Linked DNA regions of Homo sapiens: region 1 is linked to region 2. The links are contacts of gene promoters, found by promoter capture Hi-C in blood cells and fetal thymus (Javierre and others, 2016). All regions are on one chromosome and are shown on one strand. The core of a region is centred on a gene start or on the middle of the fragment in contact, and the rest is flanking DNA. Distances in the headings are between cores, read along the strand shown. Region 1 overlaps OGFOD3 (2-oxoglutarate and iron dependent oxygenase domain containing 3). Region 2 holds the start of CSNK1D (casein kinase 1 delta).

Evidence for each region. The method cuts DNA at HindIII sites, captures the fragments that hold promoters and counts their contacts. A CHiCAGO score of 5 or more calls a contact.
Region 1: a contact is called between a fragment that was not itself captured here and the fragment with the promoter of CSNK1D in region 2, in 4 of 17 cell types (activated CD4 T cells, naive CD4 T cells, naive CD8 T cells and 1 more). The highest score is 9.2, in activated CD4 T cells.

Annotation. Positions count from the first base shown.
Region 1 is chr17:82,406,314-82,413,249 of GRCh38, forward strand. It overlaps OGFOD3 (2-oxoglutarate and iron dependent oxygenase domain containing 3), which reads right to left. Exons shown (of 9, transcript NM_024648.3): 3 at 5,142-5,217; 4 at 3,055-3,097; 5 at 105-169. Among named protein-coding and RNA genes, the nearest start is that of HEXD, 8.6 kb to the right of the region's middle. The HindIII fragment of the contact is 3,878 bases long and covers 1-3,748 here.
Region 2 is chr17:82,269,462-82,276,835 of GRCh38, forward strand. CSNK1D (casein kinase 1 delta) reads right to left here and starts at 4,239. Exons shown (of 9, transcript NM_001893.6): 1 at 3,845-4,239. The coding sequence starts at 3,920. It overlaps LOC124904089 (a long non-coding RNA gene), which reads left to right and starts at 4,317. Exons shown (of 2, transcript XR_007065953.1): 1 at 4,317-5,612. RefSeq lists silencers at 3,639-3,688, 3,739-3,928, 4,169-4,378 and an enhancer at 7,240-7,374. The HindIII fragment of the contact is 9,296 bases long and covers 1-5,591 here.

The sequences.
Region 1 (6,936 bases), core at 560-3,059, 130 kb after region 2:
ATCCTCCCTCACATGTCCACGTGTCCACATGTCCATGGCTAAGAGGCACGGAGCCGCTCACTCGGCTTTCAGAGCCAGCACTGAGGTCATGCTGCAGCACTCACCTGTACAGGTTCACAAAGTGCTTCCCGACAGACAGGGCCCCTGAGTGCAAGTCCAGAATGGATGCCTGGAAAAGACGTTGTGGAGTAAAGCGTGCAGCCGCAGCAATGGCAATGGCTGTTAAAAGTCATGGATGGTAAATGCGAGTTTCCAAGGTCTGGCCAGCACACACCTCAGGTGTTTTTTTGTTTTTGTTTTTGTTTTTTGTAAAAAGGATCTTATTCTGTTGCCCAGGCTAGGGCGCAGTGGCACAATCTCAGCTCATTGCAGCCTCAATATTCCAGGCTCCAGGCCAAACAATCCTCCCACCCTCTGCCTCCCAAGTAAAGGCGCTCGCCACCACACCTGGCTAATTTTTCTATTTTTTGTAGAGATGTGGTCTCACTATATTACCTAGGCTGGTCTCGAACTCCGGGGCTCAAGTGATCCTCCCACCTCAGCCTCCCAAAGTACTGGGATTACAGGCATTAGCCACTGCACCCAGCCTCAACCCAGGACTTTCTTAAAATCCTCCCAGACCGGCCAGACGTGGTGGCTCACACCTGCAATCCCAGCACTTTGGGAGGCTGAGACAGGTGGATTGCTTGAGGCCAGGAGTTCAAAACCAGCCTGGCTAACATGGTGAAACCCCATGTCTACTAAAAATACAAAATTAGCTGGGCATGGTGGCGAGCTGTAATCCCAGCTGTAGCTGGGACACCTACAGAGATAGCCTCCCAAGGAGCTGTAATCCCAGCTACTTGGGAGGCTGAGGCAGGAGAATCACTTGAATCAGGGAGGCGGAGGTTGCAGCGAGCCGAGATCGTGCCATTGCACTCCAGCCTGGGCTACAAGAGCGAAACTCCATCTCAAAAAAAAAAAAAAATCTTCCTGGACCAAACACTTTTGTTCCCTGTGACCTAAAGAATGGTGGCACGTGTGGGCTATTTTTAGTCTGGAGCCATCTCCGTGCAGCTCCGTGCCAGTCACAGTCATGTGTCCCTGTGGGCAAGTGTTGACTTCTCTCGAGTAAATGCCTCACAGCGGTGCTCCCACCTTGGCCTCCTGGGCGGCTGGCACCACAGTGCGCGCCACGCCAAGCCTGAGTCATCACTTTGTAAGCCACTGCTGAAGTGTTTCCTGCCCGACCACCCACCTCTCAGTCCTTCCCTACGTCCTCAGAGGAAGAGGCTTCCAGCCCACGTTAGTCATCCCACCTGTGACCCCAGAGGAGCCCCACTGCTGCCCCTTCCTCATCGCCACAGCCACTGGCCCTGCGGCACTAACCTAGCTTGGGCCCGCTGAACAGTAACTGAACCCAAAGCAGCGGCCCAGCCAGCTCCATGCAGGACAACTTCCCATGTGAACGTGGAGGAGCTGTGAAACAGAAACCTACTCACTCACAGATCTTTAACAAATAGCCCCCGAACTGAACCAAACCAAACTGAAATAAAGGGAGGAACTTAGGCCGGGCACGGTGGTTCACACCTGTAATCCCAGCACTTTGGGGGGTCAAGGCAGGTGGGTCACCTGAGCTCTGGAGTTCAAGACCAGCCTGGCCAACATGGTGAAACCTCATCTCTATTTAAAATGCAAAAATTAGCCGGGCATCATGGCACATGCCTGTAGTCCCAGCTACTCAGGAGGCTAAGGCAGAAGAATGGCTTGAACCCAGGAGTTGGAGGTTGCAGTGAGTGGAGATCGCCCCATTGCACTCCAGCCTGGGCAACAGAGCGAGACTCTGTCTCAAAAAAAGAAGAAAAAAAGGAACTTAATTTTCAGAACTCAAGAGAAAAGAGTTTGCAGAAAAAAGTCACACAGACCATCACAGAAATACTTTGAAATTCTCAAAGAGTCTATAAATTAATTTTCTAGAAGTTTCAAATATGCAGAAAGACTCAAGTCTATTCAGTGATTATAATTCAAAGCGATCACCAAATAAACAGAGAGAAACAGATCTTCAGACAATTCCACACACCGAGCAAGAAAACAACCCTGAGGAAACCGCATGGGAATTGGAGCTAACACCAGCTGCACCAGACTGACTCCCAGCCACTGCCCAACAGGAGGGCGAGGCCACAGCCGGCGGTGGCTCCATGATCCCTGCGGCTGTGGTAACACAAACTGGGGCTTTAAAACAACACAAGTTTATTCTCTCACAGTTCTAGAGCCCAGGAGTCTAAAATCGAGGTGTGGGAGGGGCCCTGCTCCCTCCCAGGGCTCCAGGGGAGGTCCTGCCCGCCTCTTCCATGGCCGCACTGCTCCCATCTCTGCCTCCATCATCACAGGACCTTTTCCTCCTCCCTCTCAAATCTCCCCCTGCCTCTGTCTCCTATAGGCACTTGCCATTGGATTTAGGACCCTAAATCTGGGATGATGTCATCTTGAGATCCTTAAGTTAATTACATCTGCAAAGGTCCCTTTTCCAAATCAGATCATGTCCACGGGCTCCAGGTGAACACATTATCCGAGGCCACTAGCTGACCCCCTGCAGCCTCACATGGGACGACAGCCCCACAGGGCGTCCATGGAGGCGTCCAGCTAGGAAGTTGCAGGATGCGTTGCAGCGTGTCTGTCCCACGGAGGCCCTGCTGTTTCCCGGCAGCTCCACGGGCTCTCCTGTGTCCAGCATGCGCAGCCGTCTCCTCGCTGGGCTCCCACCCCGCTCCCTTGCCGGCTCCCTGCTTCCGACCCCCTCTATCCCCCAGTGTGAACTGGAGCCAGGCAGGCCGTGACATGCCATGAATAGATGGCCACGCACATCTAAGGACACACTCTTCCCAACGAGGGGACGCCGCACGGGTTTCAGTCAGGCGCAGCTGCTGCGGCTGGTGCTGAGAAACACCACGGCAGGCCCCACCCACATTTGGGGGCACGCAGGGAACCCTGCATGTCTGTGCCTTCCCCTTCCCATCCAAGTGAGAGCAAAGTTAACGGGTAAAAAAAGGGGGGCAGGGACTACATTCAACTCACCCCTCCGTCAGATCCTCCCAGGGAGAGCCCCTTTTCAGCTACGCTGCAGGGAGAAAATAATTCAGAATTTCGTTGCTAGAATTGTCTATAATGTATAATCTAGGCAAACGTCAATCAGCAAAATTAATGCAACATTAGTGGGTCCTGCGTGTTTAATGTTTATGATGTAAACAAATGTTTAGACCAAAGGACTCAACTTTCAAAGTTCAGTGCGTAAGCGACAATACTGCCATCGTTGTCTTGTCAATATTTGACTCAGCTTAGAAACGACTGGGCTTCAGCACCTTGGGAGGCCAAGGCGGGTGGATCACGAGGTCAGGAGTTCCAGACCAGCCTGGCCAACATGGTGAAACCTCGTCTCAACTAAAAATACAAAAATTAGCCAGCTGTGATGGCAGGTGCCTGTAATCCCAGCTACTCTGGAGGCTGAGCCAGGAGAATCGCTTGAACCCAGAAGGCAGAGGTTGCAGTGAGCCGAGATCGCGCCACTGCACTCCAGCCTGGACAACAAAGCAAGACTCTGTCAAGAAAGAAAGAAAAAGAGAGAGAGAGAGAGAGAGAGAAAGGGAGGGCTGGGCTTAATCTCTCATCTTCAATATCGAAAGCCACCTGGGCCAAGCTCAGGAGCCTGGGGAGCATCTAGGGGAGGGCCCACTGCTCCCCATCTCTCCTGGAACCCCAGGCAGGTGGGGGAAGCTTTGAGATTCACCAGCTCAGGAGATAGGGGCCCTGACCATGGTGGGAGAAAGACACCCACACGCCAGCTGTGCTGGACCACAGAGGACCACCCTGAGCTGCCACAGGTGCTGGGAGCTGCCTGTGGACACCAAGTGGGGACACGCCGGTGCCTCAGTCAGACAGCAGTAACCCCACTGGAGCTAGGCAGCAGTAACCCTGCGTGGAGCTAGGCAGCATCCTCGGGGGCAGGCTCCCTGGGGAGAATCTCAGGGCAGGGCACGTGGCCCAGGGCTGCACACCATTCCACATGCTTATCGTCTCAACAAGTGGTTGGAAAATCAAAACTTTCTTTTAAGATCTCAGTAAGAAAAGTCCAGCACCAGTAGCCTCTGAGTGGCATCCTGTGCTGCCACAAGTCATAGCCAGGTGGGCTGACGGGCTCCCTGGAGGCAGTTTCAGAGCAGACACTGAGCGGTCATTGAGCAGTGTCCCGGAGGCTCCGTGGGGAGCATGGGGCACTCAGCAGCAGCCCCCAGAGGCGGCCACAACCCCTGCAGAGGAACCTGGGCCTCTGGGTACTCTCCCAGCTACTGCTTCGCTGAGGGCCATGGTCTCCTCTCCTGAAATCGGAAAATCTGAGCTTGGCCCTTGAAAGCACATAATTCTTTTTTTTTTTTTTTTTTTTTTTTTTGAGATGGAGTCTCACTCTGTCACCCAGGCTGGAATGCAATGGCTCAATCTCGGCTCACTGCAATCCCTGCCTCCCAGGTTCAAGCAATTCTCCTGTCTCAGCCTCCTGAGTAGCTGGGATTACAGGAGTGTGCCATCACACTCGGCTAATTTTTCATATTTTAGTAGAGACAGGGGTTTCACCATGTTGCCCAGGCTGGTGTCGATCTCCTGAGCTCAGGCAATCCACCCGCCTTGGCCTCCCCAAGTGCTAGGATTACAGGCATGAGCCACCGCACCCAGCCTGGAAATTCTTATAAAATTATAATAAAATCTTTTTTTTTTTTTTGGAGATAGAATCTCGCTCTGTCGCCCAGGATGGAGTGCAGTGGTGCAGTCTTGGCTCACTGCAACCTCTGCCTCCCGGGTTCCAGCGATTCTCCTGCCTCAGCCTCCTGAGTAGCTGGGACTACAGGCACATGCCACCACACCCAGCTAATTTATTGTATTTTAGTAGAGACAGGGTTTCACCATGTTGCCCAGGCTGGTCTCGAACTCCTGAACTCAGGCAATCTGCCCGCCTCAGCCTCCCCAAGTGCTGGGATTACAGGCGTGAGCCACCACGCCTGGCAATAAAATCCTTAAAACCACTTTATTACTAACAATGCTCTGCTTCCCGCCCTAGCCCCACTCCGCGTGTGTTTGTTTGAATCCCACCGTGCTCAGGGACAGGCGGTTACCTGCGAATCCGCTCCGCTTCCTCCCTGGTGATGACGACATCGGTGACACCTCTGCCGCACTTTCGGGGAGTGCAGCCTGTGAAGGGACAGCCAGGGTGAGACGCAGTTTCCAAGGCCACCGGCGCATGCCCTTCCAGGGAATCAGGGCCAGAACTGGCTAATACGCCCGGTCAAATGTGAATTTCAGACACACACAACCACAGCTCTCCAGCGTGCATGCGCTTTGTGCGGTGCATCTGGAGTTCACGTCTCACTGGGCCACCTTGGCTTCCAGTGGCTCCAACTGGAAATTTAATCCAGAGGCACCTGTTGCTGCCCCAAACCCTGGGAAAGTCACAGAAACCCCAGACACGGCGTCAACAGCATTCCTGAACCATCACTGACTGCAGGTCCAGACACCCACAGGCACCGTCAGAAAACCCTTCTGAGACCACCAGAGCAGAAAACCCTCCTGAGACCGCCAGAGAGGAAAACCCTCCTGAGACCACCAGGGAGGAAAACCCTCCTGAGGCCACCAGAGGGGGGAACCCTCCTGAGACCACCAGAGCAGAAAACCCTCCTGAGACCACCAGAGAGGAAGACCCTCCTGGGACCACTGGCGCAGAAAACCCTCCTGAGACCGCCAGAGAGGAAAACCCTCCTGAGACCACTGGAGCAGAAAACCCTCCTGAGACCACCAGAGTGGAGCTTGTGGGTCTAGTCCCAGTCCTTCCCCAGGGCACAGCGAACTGCTCCGCACATGCCCCTGTCTCTCCCCGTACCTTGGTGACCTGCGGAGGCTGAGAGGGAAGAGGAAGCAGCAGCTCAAATGGGGGTCAGGGTGGTCGGGGCAGGGGCAGGGTCGTTGGGACAGGAGCAACACGGTCGGGGCAGGGGCATGGTTATCGGGGCAGGGGCATGGTTATCGGGGCAGGGGCATGGTTATCGGGGCAGGGGCATGGTTATCGGGGCAGGGGCATGGTTATCGGGGCAGGGGCATGGTTATCGGGGCAGGGGCATGGTTATCGGGGCAGGGGCAAGGTCGTTTGGGGCAGCGGCAGTGTCGTTGGGACAGGATCAGAGTGGACAGGAGTCAGGGTCATTGGGCAGAGGAAAGGTGGACAGGGCAGGGGCAGGGTGTTTGGGGCAGGGGCAGGGTGGTCAGACAGGGTTAGGGTGTTTGGGGCAGGGTGGTCAGGGCAGGGGCAGGGTGGTCGAGGCAGCATCGCACAGATGCACAAGGTACAGCAGAGTGTCGGAGAGGGGCCCAGGGACCCGCCCCTGTGGTTTGGTACCAAGTGCAGCTGGCTTCATGCGCTGGAAAGGCGTCAGGCCATGCCTGATCGATCAGACAGCAGCCCACAAGCACCAGGACATGGGGCAAACCGGGACTCCACAATATGCTTTTCCTCCCTCTCCCTACATCCTGCCTAAAAAGCCAGCCCTGAGCCTGGACGTGGAGCATCCCTCCCGGGACCATGGGAATAAAAGCCTCGCACTCAGTGCTGAGTGCCAGCATCAGGGGCTTGGACCCAGGGATCACAAGGCACCGAGATGACCTTGGTTCCTTTCTCTGGGCCTTGTGCCAGGAGATAAACAGAGCTCCACTTGGCTGAATATCAGGGAAGGGGGGCTGTAGTTACTGTGGTTAAATGATCTAATGGACATAGGTGTTGTATTTCAAAAACAAAAAGTCATTTTATGCTTTTTTATAAGGTTTACCCCACAAAACGCGAGGACACAGGAAAGCGGAAAGCAAACAGCAAATGCAATGAGAGCCACACAGGCCCGTGGCGCAGCCTCTGTACTAGCAAAG
Region 2 (7,374 bases), core at 2,989-5,488:
CAGGCACCCTGCAGGCTGCCTCTTGAGAAATCAGTCAGTGAGGGGAAAAACGTGTGCTTCAGAGATGAAGCAGTTAGCTCCCAAAAGATGCTTGTGCACATTATGAAGTCAGTCCATCCAGGTAACAGGTGGACAAATGGAGGCCCTGACAAGCTGATGGTGCGATGGGATCAAGTACAGATGCCAACAGATTCATCTGTCCAGCCCACCAGCCAGGTAATCCAGTCCTGCCACTAACCTCCAGAACACACTACAGGTGAGAACAGAGGCAGGACCAGCTGGGCTCTCACTGCCTCTCTGCATGGGCCGCCTGCGGGGTGAACACAGCAGGCCTCTCCCTCTAGCCTAGCCCAGCTGAACAGTCCTCTTCCGCCAGACACCCCTGTGGTTCTGGGGCTGGGAACTCATGGTCCACATTAAGGACACTGGCTGTTTTCAAATGTTACCAAGTTTATTTCCAGTGGTACTCTGCCAGCATAAGTGAAAGAACTTCTGGTTTATGGCCACACCACATGGACACGGATGCGGAGGGCGGCACAGGGCCGGGGCCAGGTCACACAACAGGCTGCCAAGGTGTGCGCTCCACAGGTGTGTGTGGGCTGTGTCACCTTCCCAACCTGCCCTCCTGAAGGGCCTTGCGGATCTGGCAATCTCAGACTGAAGACAGATTGTTCTTTTTGGGGTCCCACTTTCCAAAGCCTGGGCATTCAAGAAATAGCCCCAAAATACTGCCCCCTTTGAAGGGGCAATTTTGGAACACGACAACCTGGCAGGGCCCTGCAGTGAGCACCCGCCCTCCAACTGTCACAGCAGGGTCGGGGCAGGCAGGCCCACACCACGCTTCTAGCCCACAGGCACTCCACTGAAGCACAGCCTTCCCCCCTTCCTGGTCTCAAACATCTGAAAGCACAGAAAGTCCCCGGTAGAAAAACAAGAACCCAAAAGCCAAGCTCAAAGCAAGGTGAACCCCACCTGGAGGATACCAAAGTGACAACAGTAGGAATGGTCTTAACGATACTCATACTAGAATATACACGACACACAGAGGTCAAGATGAAGACCTAGTTCCTCGATTTATGTGTAACTGGCTGCCCAAACAAAACTATGGTGGGGATGACCGATCCATCTCATAGTCTTCAGATCAGCCATCTTTGACTCTAACTGCCATTCTGCTCAGACCCACGCTTCTTTCAAACTGCCTTACTCCGGCTAACGTGACCACCTCGCCTTTCCTCCGTGGGGTCGTCTGAAAGGACCACAGTGTAGGCTAGGAGCCAATGCTGATGGGAAAAAAAAAAATCAGCTGTGCCTAACCCCACTCAAGTAACTGGACGTGTACCCTGATGGGTGGCTGTCTGGGACGGCTGTCTGGGGGCTCCAACCCCAGGGTGTCAGAGCCACAGCCGCCCGCAATCCCGTATCCAGCATGACTGTATGCCCAGCGCGAGGTGAGGCCTGGAGGGTAGAATGCTGAGTGAGGAGACAGCCTTCCACCCTCCACCTCTGGAATTACTTGGTGACAACCACACCAAAATTTGTCTTAATCTATCTTTGGAAAGCACAAAGTTGTTTGACAAGGTCTCAGATCAGAGAACAGATAGTTTCAAAGTACTTCTTATTTATTTATTTTTTGAGACAGAGTCTCACTCCATCGCCCAGGCTGCAGTGCAGTGGTGTGATCTTGGCTCACTGCAACCTCCGCCTCCCAGGTTCAAGCAATTCTCGTGCCTCAGCCTCCCAAGTAGCTGGAATTACAGGCAGCCACCACCACGCCTGGCCAATTTTTGTATTTTTAGTAGAGATGGGGTTTCGCCACTTTGGCCAGGCTGGTCTCCTGACCTCAAGCGACCCGCCCACCTCAGCTTCCCAAAGTGCTGGGATTACAGGCGTGAGCCACCACACCCGGCCCAAAATACTCCTTTTTGATGCCTGCCTAAAGGTGGCTAATGGACTGGCTTTGCAGTGTAACTCAGATCCTGGGGTTAAAACTTTCGCCAAAATCCATTGTTCTATAAATAAGCCAAACGACTTCCATTGACCAAGCACTCTGACTTCCCAAACACTGCCAAGAACACATCCAGCTGACCACCTGGTATAAATGTTTAATAGCCAAACCCAAATGTCTAAAGCCTGCTTACTCAGCAGTCCACTAAGGCATATGTACAGGTTCAAAAGCAACAATATGGCATGTGACAGGGTCACCTGGCAGGTTAACCAGGCACCGAAAGTATGAGCCACCCATATGTGTGGATTCGTCCTAACGCTGTCAGCCCACCGGGTCCTGAGTCCTCTCTCTGGTGACAAGTGGGAAGGGTGTGAGAACTGGAGACTGTCCACATGTGGCTTCATCTAAAAGGTATGACCAGAGGCATTACTGACATCCCAGGGGATTCCTGACCCTAGCTGACAGGTGCCCCAGTTAAAACACACCCCAAAGCTAGGGCTGCTGGAACAGAAAACAGCTCCCCTCAAAGGTCTGCAGCAGCCCCTCTGCAGGCACACCGCCTCAGGCTACATATCCTCAAATTCAGGGGATCTTGGAATAACTCGTGCATTGCACAATCCCACTAACAAGTGCGGAAAATTAAGTTACTTTAAAATTACAAACTTGGGCCAGGCGCGGTGGCTTCCCAGCACTTCGGGAGGCCGAACTGGGCGGATCACTTGAGGTCCGGAGTTCGAGACCAGCCTTGACCAACATGAAGAAACCCCGTCTCTACTAAAAATACGAAATTAGCCAGGCGTGGTGGCGCACGCCTGTGATCCCAGCTTTTCGGGAGGCTGAGGCAGGAGAATCGCTTGAACCTGGGAGGCAGAGGTTGCGGTGAGCCGAGATCACGCCATTGCACTCCAACCTGGGCAACAAGAGCGAAACTCCGTCTCAGGAAAAAAAAAAAAATTACAAACTTGAAGATTTAAGCCAACCTTTCATCACACTTGTGTTCACGTGCATATTTTTCCATTGTAAATATGACACAACCCAAAACCTTCTAATCCCATTGTTTTTGAAATCTACCTTGAGACTGTTACAGTCTAAAGGACACCTCATGAGTACAACTACCTCATCTGCCTCTCATCTTGCCAGCATCTTAATCCTGTGTGACTTTCTCTACATTCACCTAAACTTAACCCTTGCTCATTTGCACTCAGTCACCGCTCCAAGGCCAAGGGGAACCGTTCAGAGAGAACCCCCAGCGGGAGGGCAAGCCCCACTCCTAGCCGGGCCACTCCCCCGCTCCACACGGCATTTGGGTCTTTCTGACATTTTCCCCCACGAATGCAAGACACCGGGGCAGCCTCTGAGGGGGCAGCCAGACAGCCCCGGACCGGGCTGCGGAAGAAAGAGCGTGGCCTTTGTTTACTGCGGTGACCTTAGGCGTAGAGGAAGCCGACGCCCGCTTCGCGGCCCCAGCCCTACCCCCTCCCCTCCCACGGCCCGCTGCCCCCACCCCCGCCCTGCCCCTCCCCCAGGCCCGCCTCCCCACGCCCCACCCAGCCCTTCCCGAGTCCGCTCCCCACGACCCTGCCCCTACCCAGGTCGGCTCCCCAGAGACCATGCCCCACCCCGGGTCAGCTCCCCTATCCCCTCCTTCCCCAACCCTCCCCTCTCCAGACCCTGCTCCCCCGACCTGGTCCTGCCCCTCCCCCACGTCCGCTCCCCACTGCCCTCCCCACCCCTGGCCGCGCTAGCCTAGTGGCCGTTGGGTTCTGGCCACGATCCGGCGGTGCCGGGACTTGCGCGGAGACCCCGCGGGGGCCACCACTTCCTTCCGCGATCGCGCTTGGTCTTGGCAGCCGCAGGGCCCGGGTCTTCGGGCGGCGGGCGGGGGCGGCGGGGCCTCACCGAGATAGATGTCTCCGAAGGAGCCGCTGCCGATCTTCCGGCCCAGCCGGTACCTGTTCCCGACTCTCAGCTCCATGGCGGCGGCGGCCCGATTCGCTCCTGCCCTCCCGGCCGCTTCCTGGGTCTGAACTCTGGGAGGCGGCGCCGCTGCTGCCGCTACTGCGGGTCCGGCTCCCGGCTCCGCCCCCCTCACGGCCCCGCTTTCACCATCGCTTTCCTGTCGCCCCGCCGCTCCCAGCGCCTCAATACGGGGCGGATGGGACAGTCCGAGCGCCGCCGCCGCTGCTCCGGCCCCTACCGGTCCCGCTTGCCCTCTCCCCGCCGCGGATGGACTCGGATCTTCCGGGCCTAAATCCCCTTTCAGCTGCCTAAAGGAGCCGCCGCCATCGCGCTGTGACGTCACTTCCCCTAGCAACCCGGCGGGGCGGGGCCGCGGCGCTCCAGGGGCGGGGCCGGGCGGGGCGAGCGCTCCAGGCCTCCTCCCGACCCTGCGCCGTGCCCAGCCCCTCTGCCCTCCTGTTACCCCGGGACCTCGGGCCGCCAGCCCCTTCCACGTGCAGGCTCCTGCTGCTCTCGCGGGGGCTTTTCGTGTGTCCCCCGAGATGTCGAGGAAGCCAGGTGAGTTCCTCGCGACAGGCGGTGCCCTTTGCAGGAGGGGACAGGTAGCTGAGGCGTGGACAGAGTGACAGGCCAGGCTCAGGGGACACAGGTGAGACCCCCTCACTGGGCTGCCAGTTCCCGGGCTTGGGGCATCCCAGTACGTCAGCGTCTGCGGCCTTACCTCCTGACACCTAAGGCCAGAGACAGAGCAGGCCCGCGCCCTGGGAGGTCCTGATGTCCAGCCTGAAGATTGAGGACAAAGCCACCACCTTTCACAAAATGAGGCCAGACCACCTGCCTCCCTCCAGTCCCTGCGGCCTGGAGACGGAGTCAACATTCTTATCTGTGTTGGATCTGAATGTTCCTCCTTGCAAAGGAAACAAGGAGTGGACGTTCAGGCTGATGGCCAGCTTCAAAGATCGGGGCCTTTGATTCCCATCACTGGGAAGAAAGCCCTTCAGACAAGCCCCCCCAGGCTGCAGGTGCATGGGGACCTTGAAGAACCCGTCCCCATGGTCCCACGTCCATGTGTCTCGAGACCTGTCGCATCCTCGCTGAAACTCAAGAATGTGAAACAGGTGAAGGTGTGTTTTGACGCATTAGCATACCAGGGCTGTGGTGTGGGCACCGCCGTGTGAGTGAGACAGCAGCCTCAGCCCGTCCAGGTCACTGCAGAAGAGGAAAGCAGCCCCCACAGGCCCCACAGTGGTGCTCGCCTTTCTCCACCCCCCAGTCTTTCCTCTCCACCCCTCAGCTCCAAACAGCTGGAGGTCAGGTCGGGGAGACGGGCGTCCATTCCCGAAATTACATAGCAGGGCCTGGAGACAGGAGATGCCGCCGGCCAGACCACCATCAGTCACTAATGAGGGATGGGCAGTCGGAACTGCCCAGTTTCTGAGTTACAGAAGCCGGGGGTGGGGGGCTGCCAGACTAGTAAAACTGACCTTGTTGGCGGAATCGCTCACGGCTTTTCTGTTGATGAACAGAGTCCAGCTCTCCCACGGGTGGCTGTGATCCTTCTTCCTGGGGAGTCCTGCTGTCCCTGACTAGGGGCACCTGCCCACCTGTCAGCTGCTCCTCCCTCGGCTGGTCCTCCTGGGCTCTGATGGCCCCAACATTTCTAGCTCTTCTCACCCATAGTGCCCCAAGCTTCATGCAGCTGCGGCAGGTACTGTGCCCGTCTGCCTGGCTTTTGTGTGTTTGTGTCTTGACTCTATAACCCGTGCACACGGACTGGGCTGTGGTGTAGTGGGGATGGCAGGAGCCCTGGGAACATGCGGGCTGGGCAAGGTGAGGCAGGCTGATTGCTGTGGCTCCCCCACCACCAGCCCCAGCCACAACAAACTGACAAAGGAAGAGGACAGTGGTACCCTGGAGCCCTGGGGTCAGAGAGAGGAGGACAAAGCAGGTGTGTAGCCCAGGGAATGACAGCACCCCTTCCGAGAAGACAGGGAGGGTGCAGACATGGCCAGGTTCTGAGCTAGAAAACTGTCAGCAGGGGGCTGAAGCTGAGGATAGTCATTGCCAAGGAACAGCCTCCGTCACAGAGGAGACGCACAGATGCGGTGACGAGGGAGGGATGCGGGGCTGGTGACCGCTGGGAACGGATGTGTGAGGCAGAGTCTCCAGGCATGGTCTGTGGGGCGGTTTGATGATACTAGAACATCTCAGAGTAGAAGGACGTCCCGACCTGCAGACTGGAAAGCCCCCAGAGCTCCCGGCAGGACGTATGAGGGCCAGCCCACACCCAGGTCTGTCCTGATACAACTGAACGCCACAGTGTCTTAGCTCCTTTACTGTTGCTATCAAGAAACACCTGAGGCTGGGAAATTTATGAAGAATCATGAGGTAATTTGTATATTTGTCCACACTAAACCTCATGTTGAATTGTAAACCCCAAGGCTGGAGGTGGCTGGGTCATGGGGGTGGATTTCTCAGGAATGTTTAGTACCATCCCCTTGGTGCTGTCCTTGAGATAGTGAGTTCTCCTGAGATCTGGTTATTTAAAAAGTGTGGGGCACCTCTCTCTCTCGCTCACTCGCTCGCTCGCTCCTGCTCTGGCCATGTGACGTGCCCGCTCCCCCATTGCCTTTCACCATGATTGGAAGCTTCCGGAGGCCTCCCCAGAAGCTGAGCAGAGGCCAGCACCATGCCTCCTGTAAAGCCTGCAGAACCAGGAGCCAAGTAAACCTCTTTTCATTATTTATTTATTTATTTATTTATTTATTTTGACACAGGGTCTCGCTCTGTTGCCCAGGCTGGAGTGCAGTGGCGTGATCTCGGCTCACTGCAACCTCTGCCTCCTGGGCTCAGGTGATCCTCCCACCTCACCCTCCTGAGTAGCTGGGACTACAGGCACACGCCACCATACCTGGCTAATTTTTCATATTTTTTGTAGACATGGGGTCTTACTGGCCCAGACTGGTCTCAAACTTCTGAGCTCAAGTGATCCATCCACCTTGGCCTTCCAGAGTGCTGGGATCACACGCATGAGCTACCATGCCGGCCCTCTTTTCTTTTAAAATTGCCCAGTCCTAAGTATTTCTTTATAGCAAGGCAACCACAGCCTAACACAGCTCACGATGCTGAGGTCTCAAAAGTTCAAGATCGGGCGTCTGCCTCTAGTGAGGGCCTTGCTGCCGCTGCCTCCACTCATGGCAGAAGGTGAAGGGCAGCTGGAGTGTGTGCAGACCGTGTGCGAGAGGGAGCTGGAGGAGTAGGGAAGTACAGGCCTTTTTTTTTTTTTTTAAGATGGAGTCTCGCTCTGTTGCCCAGGCTGGAGCGCAGTGGCGCAATGCCGGCTCACTGCAACCTCCGCCTCCCGGGTTCAAGCGATTCTCCTGCCTCAGCCTGCTGAGTAGCTGGGATTAGAGGCATGCGCCACTATGCCCGGCTAATTTTTGTATTTTTGTAGAGACGGGGTTTCACCA